2 separate regions of the Homo sapiens genome follow, and region 1 is linked to region 2. The links are contacts of gene promoters, found by promoter capture Hi-C in blood cells and fetal thymus (Javierre and others, 2016). All regions are on one chromosome and are shown on one strand. Each heading gives the region's core, a stretch centred on a gene start or on the middle of the fragment in contact. The rest is flanking DNA. Distances are from core to core; before and after follow the strand shown. Region 1 has its middle 54 kb from the start of WDR36. Region 2 holds the start of EPB41L4A (erythrocyte membrane protein band 4.1 like 4A).

Region 1 (3,074 bases), core at 537-3,036, 1.3 Mb after region 2:
AGTTGCTTTATTCATTGCCATGGTATACCCACAATATTGTTTCAAATCAAGAAACTCATGTCATGGCAGAAGTAGAGCATCAATGGGCTCACCCCCATGGATTTCACTGGTCTTACCAAGAACTTGATACTACAGAAGGAAGTGACCTGATATAACGGTGGAAGAGCTTACTGAAGACTCAGTTATGAGGCCAGTTGAGAGATAATATTCTGCAAGGATGGGTATTATTTTACAAAGGGCAGTGTATGCTTTGAATCAACAACCAATACTTGATGCTGTTTCTCCCATAGACATAATGTGTGAATCTGAGAATCAGGTGGTAGAACCAGGAGAGATTCCTTTCACTATTACATTTAATCACCCTCTCTCAAAATTCTTGTTTCCCTTCTTCTCAACTTTGAGCTCTTTGAGTTTGGACATCTTGGTCACTAAGGGAGGAATGCTTCTACCAGGGAAAAATCAAAGATTCCTTTGACTTGGAAATTGAGACTCTACTTATCTTTCAGGCTCCTTGTGCCATGGATTCAACAGGCAAAAGGAGACAAATACGTTATTCTATTATCTGGTTGATTTCTTCTGATTACCAAGGGGAAAAGTATAGCTGCTATTTTCCTAGGGCTAGGGAAGACAGGAAATCAGGGGGTTCTCTGGAATGTCCTGTCGGACTCCACTGATAAGAGATTGTTGAAGGCTGACTGCAAGGCTGGAGCAGGAAGAGACATTCTCTTTCTTCTTTCCTTCCTGTTCCTGTCAGCAGGCCCCCAACAACACTGCACTGATCCAGAAAGAGCAATTTATTCCAGAAGCAATGGTTTATTCCAGTTCACAGTTATTCTAGACTACTAGAACCTCATAGCCTCATAGCATCCACTCGGAGGTATCAAGACCAGTTTACCAATGCCACCTCCTCAGAGATCTGGATTCTTTCTCCATGGTGCACCTCCTCCAAGTTTCTCGGGCACAAATATCAGCCAGGCAGCACAACTCTTCTTAGGGTTCTAAATACCAGATCCATGGGCCATCACTTGCATTTGGACAGGACGCTTGTTTTAGAGGTCCACTGTGTCTAACGGGGGTGCCTGCTCCTCAAGGCCTCTTCTCCAGGCTTCTGCATTCTGGTAATGCCGACCTCTCCTTCTTGTTTCTCTGACCCTACAGGAGGATGGTCTCTAATATATCAAAATTTAGAAGCTTCGAGAAGAGGCCTTGAGGAGAAGCCTGACTAAATCACTTGTCAGCAGTTGCACCTTTAACATACACTGTACATATCTAAGGAAGCATAAAGCAATGAACAGCATTTACTAAAGTATGTTCCCATCAAAACCTTTCAGGTATGAAGTCTTTACCTTGAATCAGACCTCATGTTTTATGGTTTTCACACTTTCTATGTCTAATTTTCATTGTTGGGAAGAAAAGTCATGAGTTAAATTAGGTAAAAATGCATCTTACTGAGTTTAAACTAAACAGTATTTTTAGAAATAAGCAGTTAATCTGAGGATAAAGTCTTACACAAAACAAATAAACAGAGAAAAACCCCCAAAAGTCAAGGACTGATAACATAGATCAACTGATGTTGACAAGAACTGATGTCCACAAGAGCAAAATGGAAAGACAATCTCTGGTTTTTTGTGTGTCACAGATGTGAAATATAGTTGGCCTGCAGTGGGAAGAATACCAAGAATAGGTAAGGATATCACCAAGGAAGGAGAGTACAGTTATCAAGAAAGACTTGAGATACCAGACCATCCTACACAGTACAATGAATGGCATATGAAGAAGTGGATGTACAGAGCTAACTGGGACATCGCATGGTACTGATCACTACCAGGAAGACATCGGATAGGAACCTGGGTGAAATCAGAAGGAACAAAAAGAGAGAGAATTATAATTGTGAGAAATACAATCAGTCTTGAATGTCTGACGACTCTGTGTGCATTGCAAACCTAATTTTCTATTGGTTCTTTCTGGAAAAAGACAAAGGCTCACTCAGAGGGACCTCTGTGACTTGGCCAGGCATCGGTTTCATATACTAACCTATTTCTCAGATTGCTGCCCTGCCCAGGAGGGTTGGACCTCTCAGAGTTGAGAAAAGAAGAGAGTCACTGCTCATAAAAACCCTGTGGGGCAAGATTAGTTTCATCTCCTCTTTACTGAGGAGAAAACTGAGACTCAGATAAGCAAAAGCTGCCTAGCTGGCAGGTGACAGAGCTTTGCTTAGAAGCCAAGTGTCTCTGACTCCAAGGTCGTCTGATGTCATACCTTTCCAACTGTAAGTTCAAAGTGTAGGCAGTTTAGAATTTAGGCTACAATATAAATCCCTTATTAATATCTCTCTCTGTCTCTCTTTTTACTATAATTGGGAAACTCTAACTGTAAGCTTCTTTGGGAGCAAAAATTTTGTGATCTTGTGATACTGTCTCAGTATTTTTTTTCACCTAAACAACTCTACTCTATAACTCTCAAGTTTAGTATTTACTTAGAAGCAGGAGATGTGAAAATTTTGAGTGCCCTAAGTATGTCTGGAAATACCTCAATTTGATTTTCACAGTCCAGTGCTACTCAACAAACTATAACTGAGCACTTACTCTGTGCTAGAAACAGCATTTCTGCTTTCCAAGGACCTCTAAGGTAAGAGATAAATAAACAAATAGTTTTATAACAACATAACTTAATAAAAAATATAAAATTACTATGAGACTTATGTGTAGGATGTTTTGAGTACACCGAATAGGAACACTTAACCCATCCTGGGGTAAGGTTAGTGGTCAGAAGAGGTTCCCCATAAGAGAAAGAATTCAAGTCTTGATGTCTAGTGCAGAAGTAGGAAAAGTGCAATCTGGGGAGTGGGAACATCTATTTAGAAACCACCAAGTCACTTCAAACTCAACTACCCTCACTTCATCCTCAATTACCTCCTTGCATTTGCATGTGCACACCTCTCTCTTTCTCTCTTACACACACACACACACACACACAATTTCTTATCGTGGTGAATAACAATCACACAATCATCCATCCAGTACTACAAATAGAAACCCAGGAGTTGACTTTATTATCCACCTCTCAACTATCAC
Region 2 (3,406 bases), core at 769-3,268:
GCCAAAAAACAGGTGAGAGCAAAACTCAAAAAAACTGGGAACAGATGATTGCTTGAACCTTTTGTTTTTGCAGCCTCAAGTGTCTCGGTTGGATATGGAGGTAAAGAATGAAAATGTTAAGCCATCTTTCAATCACATTTGGTAACTCCTGTCAGGAATACTGTATTACAGAAAAGAAAAGCCTCTACAAGCAGAAATGCTAAAATCTAGCATAATAAGGTGTCACCTCATAAGGCAGGCAAGACTTTGACAATAAAACAAAGCTGGACACGAAATTTGATCAGAAATTCAAAACCTGAGTCAATTTCACAGAAAATTCAGAAGATAAAATAGTTTTATTCATAGCCTAGGTAAAGTTCAGAAATTTATATTGCACTTTGGCGGTTATGCTGATCCTGTGTTTGGATGGGGTCACAATAGCAGGGAAGGCCGAGGCTTCCTACAGAAGGTCCTTTGTGGCAAATCACTATGAGAGGAAACTCCATCAAAAGTCGCCAATTGTTCATTTCATTTCTACTGTGCTACGGAAGCCTGGTTTTGTTTTAAGGGCTAACGTCCTAGGTTTTAAGCAATTTTTTTTGAGCTTTGGCTACCCAGCTAACAAGCAGTAGAATAGTCAACTCAAAACTACGTCTGATGCCAAAGCTCTAACTCTAAAACTCAATATAGAGTTTTTTTTCTGTGACACCTCCCCTCGTGTCTCCCCTAACTGCGACTCGCATTAACTCGCTGCTGGTTCCCAGCTGGAGAGCACAGATTGCACCTGCTCCGAAGCCCAGCGGGGCTCAGTGTCGTCCGCAGCTCAACCTCGGCTGCCTGTGCACGGACATCGGGACCCACCAGGGGTCACTGCAGCTTCAGAGCTATTGTGCCCCTCAGTCCTGGACGCGGCCGACCGCGCGGAGGGCGTGGGATTGGGACCGCCGAACCGTGGGGTCCGAGCAGCACCGCGTCCTCTTCTCCCCACCCAGCCTCCAGGTCTCTCGGGGGAAGGACGCAGCGAGCGCTGGACTGCCCCGCGGCTTGGGCGCAGTGTGCGGCTTGGCAGCGTGGACTCGCCGGCACCTCGCCGCTGGGACCACGGTCTCTGCCCCGCCCTCCGCCCCCAGCTGATACCCCGCCCAGAAGGGGCTCCCCTGCCGCGGCCAGCGCTGGACTGGGGGGTCCGCTTCGTTCCAGGGCTTTTTGCAGACGCCTGGACCGGGCCCACATGCACCTGGGCTGCTCCCGCCCGGGGCGCCACCACTCGCGCGGCCAAGAGAACTTTCCCCGGAGCCTCTGCGGCCTGGCGCGCCCAGGGCGCACCCCCCGCTCGCCCGTCCGCCGCGTTCCCAGCTGGGGCGTCGCTCCTCCGCCCGCAGGTCCCCGCCTCCCCGCTTTGCTGAATGTCCTGAAGAAGCCGTATTCCGCCGCCGCGGCAGGCATTCCCGGAGGGAGAGCTTGAACTTGGCTACACACGGCCACCCGTAATGAGCTCGGGAGTCCCCGGACGGGAGCCACACCCCGCGACGAGCTGACCTCCCCTCGCTGGTCTGGGTAAGGAGCCTGCTGCCCTTTCCGCCTCTCTTCCGGCTCCTCGGCGCTTGCGGCTGGGGGACGGGGTAGCGGACGGAGCGACGACCTTCGCCTCTGCCCCTGCGCCCATGGTCGGGGCGTCGTGGGTGCTCCTCACACAAAAGAAAAGCCGAGCGCTTCATACTCGGCGGATCTGACCCGGGGCTGCGGGGCGGGGTCGCGGCTGGAAGTGCGCGCCCGCGGGGGACTCCGCAGGCCGATCGGACGCCAGGACGTCGGGGCCGCGCTCAAATCCGTGCGGCAGGAGGGAGGTGCAGCGCTTCCAGGGTTTTCCAAGGCCGGGGAGAGCCTCGAATTCCCATCACTCCTTTTTCTGGTCTCTTGCCCCCAGTGCCAGGAGACTTTTGTCGTCCCCAGGACTGCGGGAGGGGCCCCGCGCCCCCGCCTTCGGAGGAGCTCGAGCCGCAGGATGCGCGGGGACGCGCCACCGCCCTCCGCGCCCAGTTCCGCCGGCGCTTCCCCGGCGGCTCCCGGGCGCTGACTCTCCCGGGCTTTTCCGCCTTTCTCGCTCCCGCCCCGCCGGGCGGTTCGGCGGCCGGTCCCCGGACCCCGCCGGGAGCTGCTCGTCTCACCCTCGCCACGGCGCGGACAATAAATTAATGCATCGCGCTTGAGTGGAGGGGGCGGCTGGGCGCCTCGGTGGTAGCTTTCTCTCCTGGCTGGAGACGACCACAACCGACATGGGCTGTTTCTGCGCTGTTCCGGAAGAATTTTACTGCGAAGTTTTGCTCCTGGATGAATCCAAGTTAACCCTTACCACCCAGCAGCAGGGCATCAAGGTGGGTGCGGCCCGGAGCGCGTTCCGGGGGTTGGCGGCAGGGCGGGTGCGGGGGTCCATCGCTTTGAGGGCTGTCACCGGTGGGTCGAGGGCGGCGGCCGCGACTCTGCGCGGTGGGGAGGAGAGGCCGCTGTCCCCTGCGCGCAGGGAGAGGGTGGACGTACCAGGGTGAGTTAACTTTGAGTTCCTTCATAAAGCAAAGTTGAGTTTGACGTTTCTAAGTTTACTCAGCACACCGGCTCCCAGCAGCACCCCAAAACTCTTCCCCAAACCGGTTTTCTCCAAAAGCCTCTGGGTGCCCCGCAGCTCTCAAAGAGGGGCAGAATGGGTTATACCAGCTGCGTCCCACCAGTGTGGAAGGCATGGTTTCCCTCGACTTTGTTGAAGGCGTTTTCCTTGACAGTGTTATTAGGGAAGTGAACTAGTTCACTCGTTGAAACGCATTAATGGGTCATTGTGATTGTTTTGCGTGGGTTCGTAGTTGGGTAATGCTACGTTTGGACGGAAAATATTTTCCCTTTCTACAGCGACCTGGGTTTATCCTCACATTTAAGTAAACATCTCTCAAAGCGACCCAGTAATAACTTTGCTCCTGTTTGTGGGTCATTAAAATGCAATCACTACATTAACCTAGAGAGCCCAAACAAAAAGGCAGCAGAGCTCGCAGAGATCCTCTTCCTTACATTGGATGAGAAGGTACGTATGTTTGTAGTGACAACCTGACCGACGCGCCTGCGTGCTTGTTTTGCTTTTGCAACAGTGTTAACTACCTAAAGGAGATCTAAATCCGGAGCGTTTTGTTGTTTTGTTTATCTTTCTCTTTCAGTTTTAGATCGCTAAGGCATTTTAGATAAGGCAACAGCTGAGTCTGGTGAAGGGAAACCGCCCCCCCGCCCCCGCTCTGATAGAGCTGGCTTTCTGAGAAATCGAGTTCAGGCTGCCAAGTATCCTCTCTTAGTCGCTTCATCTCAGAAGTTAATCATAATGGGGTAGGCCCTGGGCATTTCCTTTTGTGAATCAGTTTTTACATAGTTTTATGCACACTAGGATAAC

What was found. The method cuts DNA at HindIII sites, captures the fragments that hold promoters and counts their contacts. A CHiCAGO score of 5 or more calls a contact.
Region 1: a fragment that was not itself captured here is called in contact with the fragment with the promoter of EPB41L4A in region 2 in 1 of 17 cell types (M1 macrophages); the score reaches 6.2 in M1 macrophages.

The regions. Positions count from the first base shown.
Region 1 is chr5:111,145,306-111,148,379 of GRCh38, reverse strand. No RefSeq gene overlaps it. Among named protein-coding and RNA genes, the nearest start is that of WDR36, 54 kb to the right of the region's middle. The HindIII fragment of the contact is 1,186 bases long and covers 1,194-2,379 here.
Region 2 is chr5:112,417,889-112,421,294 of GRCh38, reverse strand. EPB41L4A (erythrocyte membrane protein band 4.1 like 4A) reads left to right here and starts at 2,018. Exons shown (of 23, transcript NM_022140.5): 1 at 2,018-2,354. The coding sequence starts at 2,256. EPB41L4A-DT (EPB41L4A divergent transcript) reads right to left here and starts at 1,712. Exons shown (of 1, transcript NR_027706.1): 1 at 317-1,712. RefSeq lists a silencer at 1,264-1,353. The HindIII fragment of the contact is 9,034 bases long and covers 1-3,406 here.